2 separate regions of the Homo sapiens genome follow, and region 1 is linked to region 2. Evidence: promoter capture Hi-C in human tissues and cell types (Jung and others, 2019). All regions are on one chromosome and are shown on one strand. Each heading gives the region's core, a stretch centred on a gene start or on the middle of the fragment in contact. The rest is flanking DNA. Distances are from core to core; before and after follow the strand shown. Region 1 holds the start of FOXA2 (forkhead box A2). Region 2 holds the start of PAX1 (paired box 1).

Region 1 (5,545 bases), core at 1,888-4,387, 880 kb after region 2:
GGTTTTACACCGAGTCACTCACAAAATTTTTTTTTTTTTTTAAGTAAGACTTCCCTGCAACAACAGCAATGGAGGAGAACAACAACAACAAAAAAATCAGAATCTGCAGGTGCTTGAAGAAGCAGGAGTCTACACAGTAGTGGAAACCGGAGGCTTTTTTTTAACTTTATATTCTTTCCCGTTTTCCTCCTTATATAGAACGTGGGGTATCTGTGTGGCCCTCTGTTTGGGACGGAACGGCTGCAGCGGGTGAAGAAGACTGCTGTCTTGGGGGTGTTGGGGTGGGGGTGTTATGGATTTCTTCTCCCTTGCGTCTCTGCAACACCGTCTCCCCAAAGTCTCGACCCCCACTTGCTCTCTCACTTGTCCTCGATCCGGGGTGCCAGAGTTAGCCGGGCCTGAAGCCGTCGTCTTCTTAAGAGGAGTTCATAATGGGCCGGGAGTACACCCCCTGGTAGTAGGAGGTATCTGCGGCCAGGGGCGAGGCGTCCAGGCCCGTTTTGTTCGTGACCGGGCCCATGGCCAAGCTGCCAGGCATGGGGGAACCGTAGCCGGGGTAGTGCATCACCTGTTCGTAGGCCTTGAGGTCCATTTTGTGGGGTTGGTGGTGGTGGTGGCTGTGGTGGTGCTGCTGCTCCGAGGACATGAGGTTGTTGATGGAGAACGGGTGGTTGAAGGCGTAGTGGTGTTCCGGCTTCAGGTGGGCCTCAGGCGGCAGGCCCGGGTGGTGGGGCGGGCCCAGCAGGTGGGCCGCGGCCTGCTGCTGCTGCCCGGGAGAGGGCGCCGGCTCTGGGGGGCTCAGCGCCGCAGCCGGCGTCCCCTTCAGCTCTCCCAGGCCCCCTCGCTTGTGCTCCTGGCACGGGGAGGCGCTCGAGTGAGGCGACTCGGTGCCCGCCGGAGTCTCGGAGGCCGGCCCGGCGGCCTCCCCGAGTTGAGCCTGTGAGGCCTGGGCTCCGGCGGCCGCCTTCTTGCCGCTGCCGGCGGCGCCTGCGGCCTCCTTCAGCGCCAGCTGCTTCTCGCACTTGAAGCGCTTCTGGCGGCGCAGGTAGCAGCCGTTCTCGAACATGTTGCCCGAGTCAGGGTGCAGGGTCCAGAAGGAGCCCTTGCCGGGCTTGTCGGGCGAGCGGGGCACCTTCAGGAAACAGTCGTTGAAGGAGAGCGAGTGGCGGATGGAGTTCTGCCAGCGCTGCTGGTTCTGCCGGTAGAAGGGGAAGAGGTCCATGATCCACTGGTAGATCTCGCTCAGCGTCAGCATCTTGTTGGGGCTCTGCTGGATGGCCATGGTGATGAGCGAGATGTACGAGTAGGGCGGCTTTGCGTGCGTGTAGCTGCGCCTGTAGGTCTTGGGGTCGCGGGCGCGGCTCAGGCCCGCCTGCCCGTACATGGGGCTCATGGAGTTCATGTTGGCGTAGGGGGCCAGGCCGCCCATGGCCCCGGCCGCCTGCCCCCCGAGCGGGCTCAGGCTGGGACTCAAGTGCGGCCCCATGCCCGCCACGCCGGCCGCCCCGGCCGAGCCGCCCATGCCCGCCATGGCGCCCGCGCCGGGGGACATCCCCGCCAGGGACGGGCTCATGCCAGCGCCCACGTACGACGACATGTTCATGGAGCCCGCGCTCATGTTGCCCGAGCCGCTGCCCATGGCGGCCGCCGACATGCTCATGTACGTGTTCATGCCGTTCATCCCCAGGCCGGCGTTCATGTTGCTCACGGAGGAGTAGCCCTGCGGACAGAGCCCCGGGAGGGAGGCGACAGCGTTAGCACCGCGGCTGGAGGGTGCCCAGACCTCCCACCCACCGCCCAGGCCTCCGCGTCCGGGGAGGCCTCCGGGGAGCCCTTTCGTCCCCGATGGCCCAGTCTCCGGACTCCGAGTCTGTTTCATTCAGGGAGAGTCATGATCGATCGCCCTTGGGAAGGTGGCGAGCGGATTGCTGCTTGGGCATGTGGCCCGTTCCTAGCCCTTCTCCACCTCGCCCAGATTCTAGAACAGGGGTCCCATGGAGTACTCCCAAGCCAGCACCCCAAATACATTCCCCTACCCCAGAGTCTCCCCAAACTCTCCCACCAGCATACTGAGCTGGCGCCGAGGCCCGAAGTCCCCGGACGCCACCTCCGGTCGCAGCAAGCAACCTGCGGGACAACGCGCGGGGCGCCTCGGGCTGCCTCCAGCGAAGACTGTCCCGGGCCCCCTCTGTCCGGTCTCCCTCCAGGGACCCCCTCCCTTGTCCCAGGGAAACTGCAAGGCAGTGCCTGTGCGGAGTGCGGGGGCGGCTGGAGGCACTGAACGGGGCAATAGGGAAAGAACCGAGACCTGAACCACACGCGGCTGAGCTTTGCAGGCAAAAACTTTCTTTCTCTTTGTCCACTAGTCTTTGACTCTGCCTCCACTTCAGCCCCCAACTCCTACCCATCTTCTCCTCCTCAGCTCCCCACCCCCTCGCCGGCCGACCTCCCACCCCTCCCCAGCCGCGCGCTGCCAAACATAACTCTGTTAGGATAGTGCGTGGCTCGGCCACGAAGAGGATTTGGAGGCGCCGCAAGTCAATATTTGATCACAAAGTTAATATTATCTCAAGGCTAACAGTGTGTCGTATAAAAAAGAGACCCATTTGATTCCAAGGAGGGCGGAAAAGGCGGCTGCCCAGAAAGGCTGGGGTTGTGGGGCGGGGTGGGGGGGTGCCAGCGAGGGAAGCGGTCCTGAGGTTGGGGAAGGAGCGAGCGCCGCCGCTCCACTTCCCCCTGGAAAAGACGAGCGCTTACCTCGGGCTCTGCATAGTAGCTGCTCCAGTCGGACGGCTCGTGCCCTTCCATCTTCACCGCTCCCAGCATACTGGAAGCCGAGTGCATGGCAGTTTAAAATTTAACAGCCACAACAAACGACCAGCAATCACCCCCCACCCCCACCCTCTTTTAAAAAAAAGTCAGCCAAAGCACCGTCCCCTCCTCCCTCCCTCTCTCGCGCTCCCTCTCCCTGGGCTCCACTCCCTCTCTCTCCCTGGGCAGGCCGGAGGCGGTAGTTGGAAGTGGGCGGGAGGTGGGGGGGGGCGAGGAGCGGAGGAGGCCCAGGCCAGCGCCCCGCGGTAGGGAGCACCCGCCGCCGCCGCGCTCACGGGCTGCCGGGTGGCGGCTGAGGTTGGCAGTGCCGAGCTGCCCCGAGGCGGCGGGAAGCGCGCGGCGCGGGGGCTAGTGGGGGGGTGGGGAGGAGGAGGAGGAAGGAGGAGGAGGAGGCGGTGGTGGTGGTGGAGGAGGAGGAGGAGGAGGAGGAGGAGGAGGAGGAGGAGGAGGTGTGGACCGCGGAGCGGACAAGTGCCGCAGTGACGTGGGAGGCTGGTGATATAGCGCGGCGCGCTGGCGCGGGCCTCCAATCCCCAGACCCGGGGCAGCCCATTTGAATAATCAGCTCACACCTAGGTGAGAGGTAGCCGCAGCCGGCGCTCCGCACCTGCCCCTCAGCGCCTGCCGTCCGCCCCACCGCCGCGGCGCCCCGCACTCCTGGGCGGGCCAGGGGAGCGGGCTGGGCGGGCGATCGGGCACGCGGGATCCCTGGTCGAGCCCCCTTTCCTCCCGGGTCCACAGCGAGTCCCCTGAGGAAGGAGGGACCTGGGAGGAAACCACCCTCTGGGGCGGCTCCGGCCTCCAGCCCCCGCCCCGTCTCATCGCGCCGGGCGCCCGGTGCGCCTGTCGGAGGGCGCGTCCAGCCTCAGTGCCCGGCAGATCCCTATGAAAGCCGGATTTATTTATGCCGGGTTTCTTCGCTCTCAGTGCTCATTCTCTGTCAAAACAGCAAGTCCATGACAGCCAATTTGCAAAGCGCTGTCCTATTTAGAAAAACTACGTACACACCTTTAACTCGCCCGCTGCTGCTCCTGCGAGGCCCCTCCCTGTTACAGTTCAGACCCGGAACGGCCTCGGGAGAAGCGCGGGGCGCACGGTCTGGCCGCCTCGGCTCTCCGACTCCTCAGACACCGGCCGCCAGGGACCCGCAGTGGGGCGGCCGGCGCCTGGCGCAAGCAGCCCCTCTAGCAGCGGCCGACGGTTGGGAGGCTGAGATTTGTCTCTGATATTCAGGCCGGCGTGTTTCAAGGTTACTTTTCAGTCACAACCGAGGTGCCCACAGCATTTCGTAACTAAAACAAACAGGGCAGGAGGTGGGGAGGGAGGGGTGAGGAGAGAAGAATCCAGGAATCAATGATGGGGCATATGGAGTTGACTTCAAGAGCGTCTCTGTCCTCTCTGTCTTCCAGAGGGACTGCTTAATAGAAATTAGAAACTCCAGCAATCGTATACTTTTATTTCCCCAGCAGCTCTTGGGTTCAAAAATTGTCTTCTGTTCTGGGTTAGCCTGTGAGCCCAGATTTGGAGTGGGGGGATATTGCAGGTGTTTGGATGTGGAGGCTCTTTCTTGGTTCTGAAAACCTGGCTGGACCTTGGGGATCCAGCCCTGTACCCACCCCCTCAGACACAGAGAATGCATAGGAACTAGTGGGCATCCAGCCCACCTGTCCAAAATTGGGGGCGATGGTGGCAGAAGACAGGCGAGATGGCAGACACGGAGCTTCGCATTGAAGCTTGAGTAAGGGTGAGGCTGGAAGGCAAGCGAGGAGGTAGCAGTAGGCACAGGGGAACCACTTCCCTAACCCCAGGACTCTCAGGTCTGCACGGTTTGGGACACAGAAGGAAGCCGCCGGCAGCATCTTTTGCTGCTGAAATGCAGATGGTTTGGACACTTCATAAAGAGGGCATTAATAAGCCCGCCGAGTGAGCGCCAGGGCGGGATTCTCCCACAAATTCAAGGTCTGTATCTCCGCGGAAGCCGTGCCTATCGGTCCCCCGAGTGCTGAAGGCTCCCACGAGGGGCAGGCCAGCCCGGTGCGCCAGGGAAGGAGCTTGATGGTGTGTACGGCTACGTAGTGAACGTGGAGGTGTGCGCAGCGGAGTCAGAGGGGCTAGATCCCCAGCATTTCCCACGGGGTCCCACCTAGCGCGTGGATGGGAGCAACTTCATCACTCCACCGAGGGCAGGGAAAGAGGAGTAAGCATTGGAGCTCAAAGAATGAGCAATTTTTCAAAGCTTTCTCCGCAGGCCTGGGCAGACACACACGCACACACACACACACCGCACCCCCAAAACTCAAAAGAATGTTATGGTTGACCTAGTCTGTGCGTGTGCTGTATGAGAGTATTTGTGAGCTTATGTGGGTGCCCACTTCCCTTTCTATTTTGCTCCTGGGTGGAAATTTGGTCCCAGAAATTATTCCAGGAACAGAAGGAGCGAGCTGGAGGGCCGCAGGAGAAGGGGGCGCTACACTTCCAAGGAGCGGACTTTGGAAGCCCCCACCTCCACCACAGCACTATTGGTGGCCGGGGTCAGGGACACCAGAGAGCGCTCGGCGGGGGCTTCCACAGTGACAGGGCGCCCCCTGTCGGCCGCCAGGCCCGCGGGACCGACCCGAGTCCTCATTTACCCCCGCGATCCCAACCCCGCAGCTCCGGCACCGGAGCACCTTCTCCCCCGCTCTCCCAGTCTCTCCGAAAACGCCTTCGGGGG
Region 2 (5,252 bases), core at 2,244-4,743:
CCTGAGGCTAGGACGTCGTGAGGAAGACCCGGGATCCCGGCCCTGCGGCCCCTGCGGGCTGCTGCTGGTGGGTACCAGCTTTCGTTGTTAGGCCCAAGTCTGGCCAGGGCTCTCGGGGAGTGCCACCTGTGTTTTCTGCCCTCTGTTACTTCCCGCAAGAACCGAAATGCGCACCTGTATGCCCAAGTTGGACTTAAATCAGCTTTTTCTTAAGGTTTCTCCTGGAGTCCTTGAAATGCATGGGCCCGGGGAACATCCCGGCCTATTGCTTGTTTTAACTCCCGGAAACAAACCCACCAAAAATCAAAGCCAAGTATGAGACATGAAGTGGGGGCGACTGTAGCTCCAAGAGCGGCCCTGTCACCGAACCCCTGGGTGTTTAGCAGTGTGAAGTTTCGGGTGTTGAGTTCACGGCTCAGGTGGCGTGCAGCAAGGGAGTTCTCATCAGTAACCCCCCTTGCCGCCAACCCCCAGTCCCCAGAAGGGCAGGCACCCCTTCGCGCCTCCTTTTTGACTCCCGCTTTCGGCAAAGAGTTTACCTCTCTTTCTTTTCCTGCCTTGGGAAAACTGGGCGAGGGCCCGAAGCCTCTGGGGTACCCTCAGATCCATCCTCTGCCCTGCTAGGAGTCCAGCCCCAGGCGGAGGAGTTTTGCCCCAGGTTTCTGAGTGCGCCCTCAGCTAACAGGCTCCCGCGACCCTGGAAGCGGAACTTTGTTGCACTCCGCTTCCAGAGGACGCTGAAATACGGTGCCAAACCCAGCCAAGCAAAAACGCAGAATCCGCGAGCTCTTTACCTCTGTGCGCTCAGCGCTGACTAGTAGCTGTCCCCGGGCCATGGAGAGGGCTAAGCTGCCTCCTTGGGAGGTGGGAGAGACGTTTCTTTTCCTTCTGCAATCTCATCTTAGGGCCATCTCTCACCAAGCCTAGCCTGCAGCTCGGGAACCCGCGATACCCGGCCGGGGGACGACAGGGGGCGACAAACTGTAAGGTTTTCCCTATGCCCGACCGTGCAGAAGGCTGCAGCGAGGGCTGTGTGCTCCCGATCGCGCACAGCTGGCTGCGGGAAAGGGGCCAGGATTGAGACGAAGGCTCGCGGACTCTGCTACCGGGGAGAACCACCCCCTCTCATCGTGCGCAATCCCCAGACTCACCCCTCTACAGTAGCCCCCAGCCACGGGCGGCCTTCACGGGGACGGGGGCGGAGTTTTGTCCTGGACTGCGACTCCTTGCCACTTTTCCAAGCTCGGCAGCAGAGGTGGGGTGGACGTTCCCCTGAAAGGGTAGTTGGGCGAACCAGCTCTCACGGTGTCACGACCGGCTTTATTTCCTCGTCTTTAGAGTGTGCCTGTTGACTCCTCACCTACTGGGGGGAAGAAGCGGCTTTAGCTGCTTTTCCGGATCACGAGTATCCACTGGACTGAGGCAGGGATGTGGCGTTCCTTTATCTCAGAGACTCCAAGGTCTGGAAATCAACCTTTCTTGGTATCTCGCGCCCGACGAAGCTAGCAGATTCCGCAATGGAGAGCACTGGGCAGGGTGCGTCCCCACTCCCCGCACCCCCGGAGCCCCGAGCATACTGTGCGTGCTTAGTCCTCTCTTCGCTGCCTTCGCGGAACTCCTGGCTTAGGCGTGCCCACTTTAATCCAAACCATTCCCTTTCCCTGTTCCTTACTCCAAACCTACGCTGTCATGGACAGGCCTAATCTTCTACATAGCTTCCCCTGCTCCCACTCTCGCACCCTCCTGCCAGTGCACTGACCCTCAAACCTCCTCCAGGTCTCCAGGACCTCCCAGAGCCAGAGACTGTACTGTGTTCATGCCGCCGGAGAGGAAGAGTTCACTTCTTTTAAACCTGATTTTTCTTTTTCCAGGAGTAATTCTTGTCTGTGGCCCCACCGCGTGCTCTCTCTAGAGAGTCCAGGAATTATGAGCCAGTCACTCCTGACAGATACATTTAGACAGGTGGATTAGGAGCCAGGGATGCTCTCTGGCCCTACAGCGGAGGCAAAGGGGTCGGGGCCTCCGCAGCCATGGCTCCCCAGGGTGGGCTGATAGGGTCCATGTGCTCCTCAGCCACTGTCACCGCGCTGGCGCCATACTCAACTCTGGGTGGCTAAGGAGAGCTAGACCCTTGGGGTGGGCAGGAGGGAGGGGAAGAGGGTTCTCTCCTCCAGGGGAGCGCTGGGAGTCTCAGAAACCTCGGCTGTTCCTACTCTCTCCCCTATGCCCTCTTCCTGGTCTAGCACATTCAGCCCAATGCCTTTGGTGCTTACTGGGCTCAACCTCAGAGCTCTCAGATCCTGACCCCCTCAAATCAGTTCATGTTCAAAACCACGAGTTTCCTCCTCTTGGCCCTCACCGCATGGCTCCCGGACACAGTTAGCTGCACAGGTTGGGGAGTTCAGAACTGCTTTGGTGCAGGGTAGAAACAGAGAAATTGTTGATGTTCAATCTCAGGGGTGAATAATTCAGGGCTGCGCAAAACCTCATTTAAATGAAGGAGAAATGACCATTCTGTGGTTTAACAGAGACTTCCTGAAGCTGCAGGTGCTGGGAGAAAGACGAGGCCAGGCCACCTGGGATAGAGTGGTGCGAGATTCCACCGCCAGGGAGAAAGGAACTTGTCCTTCAGACCTAGAGCTGGAGCTATGCATTTGGCCTCCCGCCGGTCGCGCTTGGGGACAGGAGGGCGCCGGATCTATGCGCCCCTTAGCAGCAGATCGGGATCCTTTTGCCTCCTGCCCCTTCTGTCACTGCTTGGAGAGGGATGAGTTCTGGTGGCTGGGCCTGGCTGTAGGAGACAGGATTTGGACCGTGCCCCTCTCGCATCACCGAAATCACCCCCACTATTCCAAGAGTGGTTGGCTATTAAACGTGAAGATTTCCTGAGAGAAGGATTGAGGACCTGGCCAGGAATGGGACACAAGTTCCGCCTTGTGTCTTCCTGACAGGAGCCCTGCACCGCGCTGGACGCTCACCTTGACACTCCCAGCCAGCTGGGGTACTGATCCCACCCTTCCCCGGCCGCTGCCCCGGGAGTGGGGAGGTAGAGAGAGCCACACCCGAAACACCTTTCCACGATAAACTTTTATTCTCTATCTTATTATTAATGGTGGCGGAAATAAAACTAAAACCAAAACGAAAACGAGTACTAGTACTAACACACTAATCAATTTGAGATGACTTCCCCCTCATTCCCAAAGCTAGAGGAGGAAGGGGGCTGAAAGGGGCTCAGAGCAGTGGAAGGTCCCAGGCCCAGCTGGGGTTGGGACGTGTGTGTGTGTGTGTGTGTGTGTGTGTGTGTGTGTGTGTGTGTAGAGGGGTGGGTTCCGGGGGGGTGGTGGAAGAGGGCCGAGGGGGGAGGATAGAAGGAGGGGGTAGAGTTTCAGGGCGGGGAGGGGGGCGCTGGGGCGCAGTGACGGGAACCAATGAGCTGCCAACTCGCGCGTCTCCGGCGTGACTGCCGAGATTGACGTGGAGGACACGTCAAATTGATTCCCGCACGCTGCAGCCTCCCGGTCAGACGAATTTCTCCCAATCGGATGAAGTTCACCCTGGGCCTGGGGTCGCGGGCGTGGAGAGTGTCCTGGGAGGGGGCAGCAGCGGCGGCGGCAGGCCCTGGAGCGGGCGGCAGCGCGCTCCGCTGCCGCGCACAGCGCGTCTCCAGCCCGCGGCTGGGCCGCCGCGGCTCTCGGCTCTCGGGCGCCCTCCCTCTATGCCTCTCACGCGGCGGCGGCGGCGCCCAAGCTCTCCCGGACTGCGCCGGGCCCAGCCCCGGCCACCCCGGCCACCCCGGCGCCAGGCAGCTGGCCGGCCCGCTCGCTATGGGTAAGGGGCGGGCGACAGGCAGGGCTCGGGAGGGCTGATGAGGTGGGTCGGGTCCGCCTGCCTCCCTTCCCTCTCGTCCGCTTTCCCTGGGCGACCCAGTCCTGGGTCCTGGAGAAGCTGCATTCTCCTCTGATCCCCAGCCTTCAGGGGGCAGTTGAGCAAGTCTGGGAAGGGAGTGTTCCAAGTAGACGCGCTAAAAGTCGCGAAAGGGCACGGAGGGCTACAATGCGCCGCGCTCCACTCCGCGGCTCCTCTGCGCCCTTGCCCACTCCAAGCCAGACCCAGGCGGTTTGCCCTTGGACTCCGAGCTGTCTGGGGACCCACAGGTCACCTTTGGAAGTGCGCCTGGGTGCAGTCCCTCGCTCCGCGTGGGGACCCTTGGCTAACCCGCCGGGTGTTTTCTCCCCCTCCGGCTCACTCTTGTCTGGCGCATCCGCAGAGCAGACGTATGGCGAGGTGAACCAGCTGGGCGGTGTGTTCGTCAACGGCCGCCCCCTGCCCAACGCCATCCGCTTGCGCATTGTGGAGCTGGCGCAGCTGGGCATCCGACCCTGTGACATCAGTCGGCAGCTCCGCGTATCCCACGGCTGCGTGAGCAAGATCCTGGCGCGCTACAACGAGACCGGCTCCATTCTGCCCGGGGCCATCGGGGGGAGCAAGCCCCGCGTCACCACTCCCAACGTGGTCAAGCACATCCGGGACTACAAGCAAGGAGACCCTGGCATCTTTGCCTGGGAGATCCGCGACCGGCTGCTGGCCGACGGCGTCTGTGACAAGTACAATGTGCCTTCGGTGAGCTCCATCAGCCGCATCCTGCGCAACAAGATCGGCAGCCTGGCGCAGCCCGGACCGTACGAGGCAAGTAAGCAGCCGCCGTCGCAGCCTACGCTGCCCTACAACCACATCTACCAGTACCCCTACCCCAGTCCCGTGTCGCCCACGGGCGCCAAGATGGGCAGCCACCCCGGGGTCCCGGGCACGGCGGGCCACGTCAGCATCCCGCGCTCATGGCCCTCGGCACACTCGGTCAGCAACATCCTGGGCATCCGGACGTTTATGGAGCAAACAGGTCAGTTGTGGCGGCCTCCGTAGCCTTCTATTAAGGGGCAGAACCTGGGGCGGGCAGGCTTGCAGGAGAGGACTCACACTCGCTCTCCTCCCGGGACCGGTTCTGGCTCAGGGGAGGGCTCCACACTGGCCAGGGAGGCTGGGGGTCCTGGGCCTTTTGTAAGAGACCTCGGACATCTTGAACTTTTTATGACAAATATGGAAAATATTTCCCAAATAGAAGAGCAATCGCCGACCACAAATTTGGAGGCCTGAAATTGTGCTTTTTCATTCTTGCAAAAAGTATGCAAGCCCCTGTTGCCAAATCTAAGGGGGAAAAAAACCCGCTCAATTTTGAGACCCTTTCTTTAGCTCTC

Evidence for each region. Contacts are between HindIII fragments. The study calls those that stand out against the background at their distance.
Region 1: a contact is called between the fragment with the promoter of FOXA2 here and the fragment with the promoter of PAX1 in region 2, in 2 of the 25 tissues and cell types used here (H1 embryonic stem cells and mesendoderm cells).

What each region holds. Positions count from the first base shown.
Region 1 is chr20:22,581,435-22,586,979 of GRCh38, forward strand. It overlaps FOXA2 (forkhead box A2), which reads right to left and starts at 3,138. Exons shown (of 2, transcript NM_021784.5): 1 at 2,758-3,138; 2 at 1-1,720. The coding sequence starts at 2,844. The coding sequence ends at 416. RefSeq lists enhancers at 599-1,170, 1,171-1,743, 3,168-3,923, 4,679-5,434, 5,435-5,545. The HindIII fragment of the contact is 10,630 bases long and covers 1-4,816 here.
Region 2 is chr20:21,702,171-21,707,422 of GRCh38, forward strand. PAX1 (paired box 1) reads left to right here and starts at 3,494. Exons shown (of 5, transcript NM_001257096.2): 1 at 3,494-3,828; 2 at 4,268-4,897. The coding sequence starts at 3,543. LINC01726 (long intergenic non-protein coding RNA 1726) reads right to left here and starts at 1,415. Exons shown (of 5, transcript NR_109878.1): 1 at 1,152-1,415. RefSeq lists an enhancer at 733-1,337. The HindIII fragment of the contact is 9,805 bases long and covers 1-5,252 here.